Linked DNA regions of Homo sapiens: region 1 is linked to region 2. Evidence: promoter capture Hi-C in 16 types of primary human blood cells and fetal thymus (Javierre and others, 2016). All regions are on one chromosome and are shown on one strand. The core of a region is centred on a gene start or on the middle of the fragment in contact, and the rest is flanking DNA. Distances in the headings are between cores, read along the strand shown.

Region 1 (2,700 bases), core at 41-2,540, 530 kb after region 2:
TGTGGAACAAGTCCGTCTCTCTCCTCCCCTCCACCCTTTCCCCCATCTCACCTGAGCCTCCTGCACCTTCCCTGCCTGGGTCTCCAGAGGGTGAGAGGCTGGGGGAGGGGAGCAGAGGTGGTTACAGTGGGGAGAACGATTAAGGGGGGAATAAAGGGGTTCAAATGGTCAGTGAGGGGGCAAGAACACCCACCAACCTAGTTACACTGGGATGGGATGGTGGTAAAAATGGAGCAGAGGGAGGGAGGGGACGGAGAAAAGATCTTATCTACATGCAAAGTGATGCCGGGAGAGGTGATTAGTGAGGGGCAGAGAGGCTGGAGAGGAAGATTTAGGGGGACAGGGAGAAAGTAGGGGCTTTTGCCCAGGCTGGTCTTGAACTCCTGGGCTCAAGCGATCCAACCACCTTGGCCTCCCAAAGTACTGGGATTACAAGCATGAGCCATTGTTTCTGGCCCTGACTTACTTTCTTTCTTTTTTACTTTTTAGAGAAAGGGTCTCGCTCATGTCACCCAGGTTGGAGTGCAATAGTGCGATCATAGCTCACTGCAGCCTCAAATTCCTGGGCTCAAGCGATCCTCCTCCTCCTACCTAGGGGATTCAGGGCATGAAGGAACACTCAGGAGGAGTTAGGAAGGACACGACAGTGTGTGAGTGTGTGTGCGGGGAGGGTTAGATTTACAAGGCAGAGGGAAGTTTAGAAAGGAAAAGAGAAGGGAAGAGACGCTTTGGCTGGGAGGCAGGTTTAGGAGGGAGGTGCAGTGGTGCAGTGGAGGCGGTAGGTTTAGGAGAGGCGCGGAACAAGGGGAAGCCATAGGAGGGGTCAGCAGGGGTCCCTCAGCATCCTCTGGTTGCCTCTAACAATCAGGTACCCATAGCAAGCGGGACCGGGGCAACTTATGTTCTTTGCAGCGAGGGACCTTAGCAACCAAGGTGCGAGAAACACGCGATCATTGGCAACTTGGCAAGTGGATGTGGTAAACGAACCCTGAACACACTGCGACCCAGAAACCCACCAGCCTAGCGATACAGATCGCTAAGCAACAGCCCTCAGAATCCCACTCCCCGAAGCGCTCCCTACTTCCCGCCCCACCGCGGCCACCCTTGGGCCCCGGGGCCTGCAGCATTCAGCCAGGCCCCGGCGCGGCCCGACCCTCCTACCCGGATCCCCGACTCACGGTCTGGCTCTGCCATGGGCGCGGTGCTGAAGCCCTTGAGGCTGTCACCGACCGCTCTGTCCCGTCACCAACCACTGTGTCCCGTCACCGACTGCTCTGTCCTGTCACCGACTGCTCTGTCCCGTGACGGCACCAGAAATGGGAGTGGCCGTGATAGGGCACAGAACTACAACTCTCAGCAGACATTGCGGCCGCAGACGCGCTTTCGTACAACACCCAGAGCGCCCCAGTTAGGTAAGAAAGCGCGCGAGGACCGGACTACGAGTCCCAGAAGGCGTGGCGTCAGCAGCCATGTTGGTAAAGGGCGCCCGGAAAATGTGGGAACGGCTAGAGAGTTGTAGTCCTCCCGAATACTCTGATTGGTCAGGATGCAGTACGAGGGCGGGGTGTGAGCGATTCAGCATATTATCATTGGGTGAATCAGGGGGCGTGGTGGGGAATTTCCCGCAGGGCGGAAGCTCCAGAACTCCCGGCAAAGCCCAGCTACAGGCGGGCGACTGCGGGGGGCCCCTGAGGCGGCGGGGGCCATGGCTGGGGTCGCGTGCTTGGGAAAAGCTGCCGACGCAGATGAATGGTGCGACAGCGGCCTGGGCTCCCTGGGTCCGGACGCAGCGGCCCCCGGAGGACCTGGGTTGGGCGCGGAGTTGGGCCCGGGGCTGTCGTGGGCTCCCCTCGTCTTCGGCTACGTCACTGAGGATGGGGACACGTGAGTGAACCTTAGGCTGCCAAACGGAGCCCTAGGACCCGGCGTCACATTCCTCATTAATCTCTGATCCCTGAGGCTTCCTAACCTCATACTCCTAAATCTGACTTCCGATGCTGAACTTCCTGACCTCTAACCCCCGAGTCCTAACTTTTAACAAAACCAATCTTCTATCTAGCTATGATCCTAACCCAATCATTTCTTACCTTCTTTTCTTGAACTATGATTCTCAGCTCCTGGAATCCACATTGTATCCACTGATACCCAAACCTGACTCCAGTCCTGAGACTTCTGTTAGAACTGTGGCTTCTCCTGACTTCTAACCTCCAAATATGATCTTTGATTCTTAGTTCCCGATTTGAGCCCTAGAGTTTGATTTCCGAAATTAATACTTGGTCCCTGACTCTAAGATCCTGTCTTCTGAGCAGTGTTCTTCAAATCTTAAATTCAAAGAGAGAGAATGTAAGCTCTTCTATGTTGAATTCCTAATTAAAGTAAAAAAATAGGAAAATTAAAAAAAAGAATGTTAGCTCCATGAGACCAAGGATTCATCTGTTAAACAAATATTCTTTACACATTACCACGTTCCAGGCTCCGTTTAGGTGCTAGTGATAAAGGCAGTGAAGAAAACAAACAAAAACTTAAGCCCTTGTGGAGCATACATTTTAGTGGAGCTAAATAAACAGATTGATAAGACCACAAGGAAGGAAAGAAATGGAAAGACAGGAAGAAACAAAGAAAGACACGCAGAAAGAAAGAAACATAGAAAGTAAGAAAAGGAAATAAAGTCAGAGGTAGTTAAGTACTTTGGAGAAAAAT
Region 2 (2,700 bases), core at 69-2,568:
GTTTAAGCGATTCTCCTGCCTCGGGCTCCTGAGTATCTGGGATTACAGGTGTGTGCCACCACGCACAGCTGGTTTTTTTGTTTTTTTTTTTTGGTATTTGCAGTACAGATGGGGTTTCGCCATGTTGGCCAGGTTGGTCTCGAACTCCTGACCTCAAGTGATCTATCTGCCTCGGCTTCCCAAAGTGCTGGGATTACAGGCATGAGCCACCATGCCTGGCCAACAAATATTTATTGACTGTCTACTAATATTTGCCAAGCACTGAGATACTGGGAATTCAGTAGTGAAGGAAATCGTCCTGCCTTCATGGAGATGACATTCTAAATGGTGGAGACGGAGAGTGAAAGTCGGGTTTGAGAAAAACGTGCTGCCCAGGCGCAGTGGCTCACACCTCTAATCCCAACACTTTGCGAGGTCAAGGCAGGAATATCGCTTGAGCTCAGGAGTTCGAGACCAGCCTGGGCAGTATAATGAGACTCTGTCTCTATAAAAAATTTAATTTTTTTTAAAAAGAGAGAAAAAGCGATGTTGAATGTGCAGATGTAATATCAATCAGTGGAGGAAGAAGTTGGTATAAGAAGTTGTGAATACTGGCCAGGCAAGGTGGCTCATGCCTGTAATCCCAGCATTTCGGGAGGCCAGGGCCCAGGGAATCGCCTGAGTTCAGGAGTTGGAGACCAGCCTGACCAACATCTACTAAAAATACTAAAATTACGTCTCTACTAAAAATACGAAAATTAGCCAGGCGTGGTGGCACATGCTTGTAATCCCAGCTACTTGGGAAGCTGGGGCAGAAGAATCACTTGTACCCAGGAGGCGGAGGATGCAGTGAGCCAAGATTGCTCCATTGCACTCCAGCCTGGACAACAAGAGCTAAACTCCGTCTCAAAAAAAAAAAATTGTGAATCCTCCACTTACACATGACATTGAAAGCCATAGAGCTGGATGAGTTTTGTAACTAGTTAGTTCATATAAGCTTGGGAAAAAAATGTGGAAGGATGCATTGAAAAAGACTGGAGAGGGAGCCCCAGGTACACATCCTAGCTGTTAGTCCTTTGGAAGGTTACCCAGCCTCTCAGTCTGTCTATAAAATGAGAATAACACAGCTCTCCAAATGGCACGACACCCGCTACCTTTTGGCTTGGAGACGCTGCCCCGAAGGCGGAACCTCCAGGACAGCTACGTAGCGTCCCGAGCACTCAGACTGAAGCCAGGGCAGCCATGTTCATTATTGGAACCGTGAGGTGGGTAGGGGGGGTGGTGTTGAGACAGCTGTCATTTTCAGTTAGGGCAAAAGCCAACTTCCGGTCACCATCTTGAGTGACGACAGAGGCGGAGCTCCAACTGACATGTTCATTAAGGGCAGGGCTCCGAGGGCGCCACCTCGAGAGCGACGGCGGGCTACCCGGGGCGGGCTGAGGCAGGTTGTAGCCCCGCCCCGGGCCTTGGGCTCCACCTCTCGGCCCCACTTCCGCCGGGCAAGCGTTTGTAGGCGGCGCTGCCGTAAATCAGGCGGTCTGCTTGCCGCATCACGCAAGATGGCGGCCGCGGCGGTGAACGGGGCGGCAGGCTTCTCGAGCTCCGGGCCCGCGGCAACCTCGGGCGCTGTTCTGCAGGCCGCGACCGGCATGTACGAGCAACTCAAGGGCGAGTGGAACCGTAAAAGCCCCAATCTTAGCAAGTGCGGGGAAGAGCTGGGTCGACTCAAGGTAAAGTCGGCAGGCCCAGGAAACCGAGTGTTGCGGGCGTGGGAGGCGCTACGAGGTGTCTGGACCCAACCAAGTCCCGGGCCGCGGAAGCCACCTCGGTGCCAGCGAGACTGAGGCGGGCTGGGGGATCCGATGGGGTGAAAGATTTGGAACAGCCAAAGTGGGGGCTCGGAGGGCGTCAAGAAGCGAGAGAGGGACAGGGAGCGTTGATGGTCACGCCTGTAATCGCAGCGCTTTGGGAGGCCGAGGCGGGGGAGCGTCGCTTGAGCCCAGGAGTTCAAGATCAGCCTGAGCAACATAGCGAGACTCTGTCTCTACATTTTTTTTTTAAGTGAGAGATGACTGGAATGGACCCACGCGGGGGTGGTGGGGGAATGATTGGAAGACTTATGGCAGAACTGAGTGAGGGGTTAGATTTTTGGTGCGTGGAGGCTTAACTGGTCGGAGTGGCAGGATTGGGATTCGGGCTTTTCCTGATGGTGGATTCCAGGCAAGACCAAGTGGGAAGTGAGGACTGCCCGGAGTGATAAAAGAATGAGGCTGAAAAGGTGGGCTGTGTAGAGGGTGTGTGGTTAAGACCAGGCTGGGTTAGGATCTGAGAGATCTGGGGCTTAGGCTCGCATCTGTTGGGAGAGGGGGCAGCCTAGTTGTGAAGGCAGGACTGAACCTAGAAGAAATATTCTTACAAGTAGAGAACAAGAATACGGGGCCCAGAGTGCTTCAGACCAAACATCTGTTGGGAGGGAGTGTAAATCCAGTGGCTTGGAACAAGCTGCTGAGCCTGCTAAGGAAAGATGTATGGGCTGAACTGTGGGGGGAGATTTGGACCTCCCCCTCCCAGATATAGATTTTGGGGATAGCCCAGCTACCCCTTCCCCAATAGATTGTGGGGAAGATGGGCCAAGAATGGAATGTACTCCTGTCCCCACCGCCGCGTGATTCCACTGGGTCAGGCACTGAGTGTCCCTCCTTGTTTCCCCAGTGGGGCTAT

The links. The method cuts DNA at HindIII sites, captures the fragments that hold promoters and counts their contacts. A CHiCAGO score of 5 or more calls a contact.
Region 1: a contact is called between the fragment with the promoter of SIRT2 here and the fragment with the promoter of PSMD8 in region 2, in 1 of 17 cell types (neutrophils). The highest score is 10.1, in neutrophils.

What each region holds. Positions count from the first base shown.
Region 1 is chr19:38,898,328-38,901,027 of GRCh38, forward strand. SIRT2 (sirtuin 2) reads right to left here and starts at 1,291. Exons shown (of 16, transcript NM_012237.4): 1 at 1,179-1,291; 2 at 52-98. The coding sequence starts at 1,194. It overlaps NFKBIB (NFKB inhibitor beta), which reads left to right and starts at 1,642. Exons shown (of 6, transcript NM_002503.5): 1 at 1,642-1,884. The coding sequence starts at 1,706. The HindIII fragment of the contact is 23,515 bases long and covers 1-2,700 here.
Region 2 is chr19:38,373,253-38,375,952 of GRCh38, forward strand. PSMD8 (proteasome 26S subunit, non-ATPase 8) reads left to right here and starts at 1,319. Exons shown (of 7, transcript NM_002812.5): 1 at 1,319-1,709. The coding sequence starts at 1,350. RefSeq lists enhancers at 1,228-1,858, 1,489-1,628. The HindIII fragment of the contact is 10,393 bases long and covers 975-2,700 here.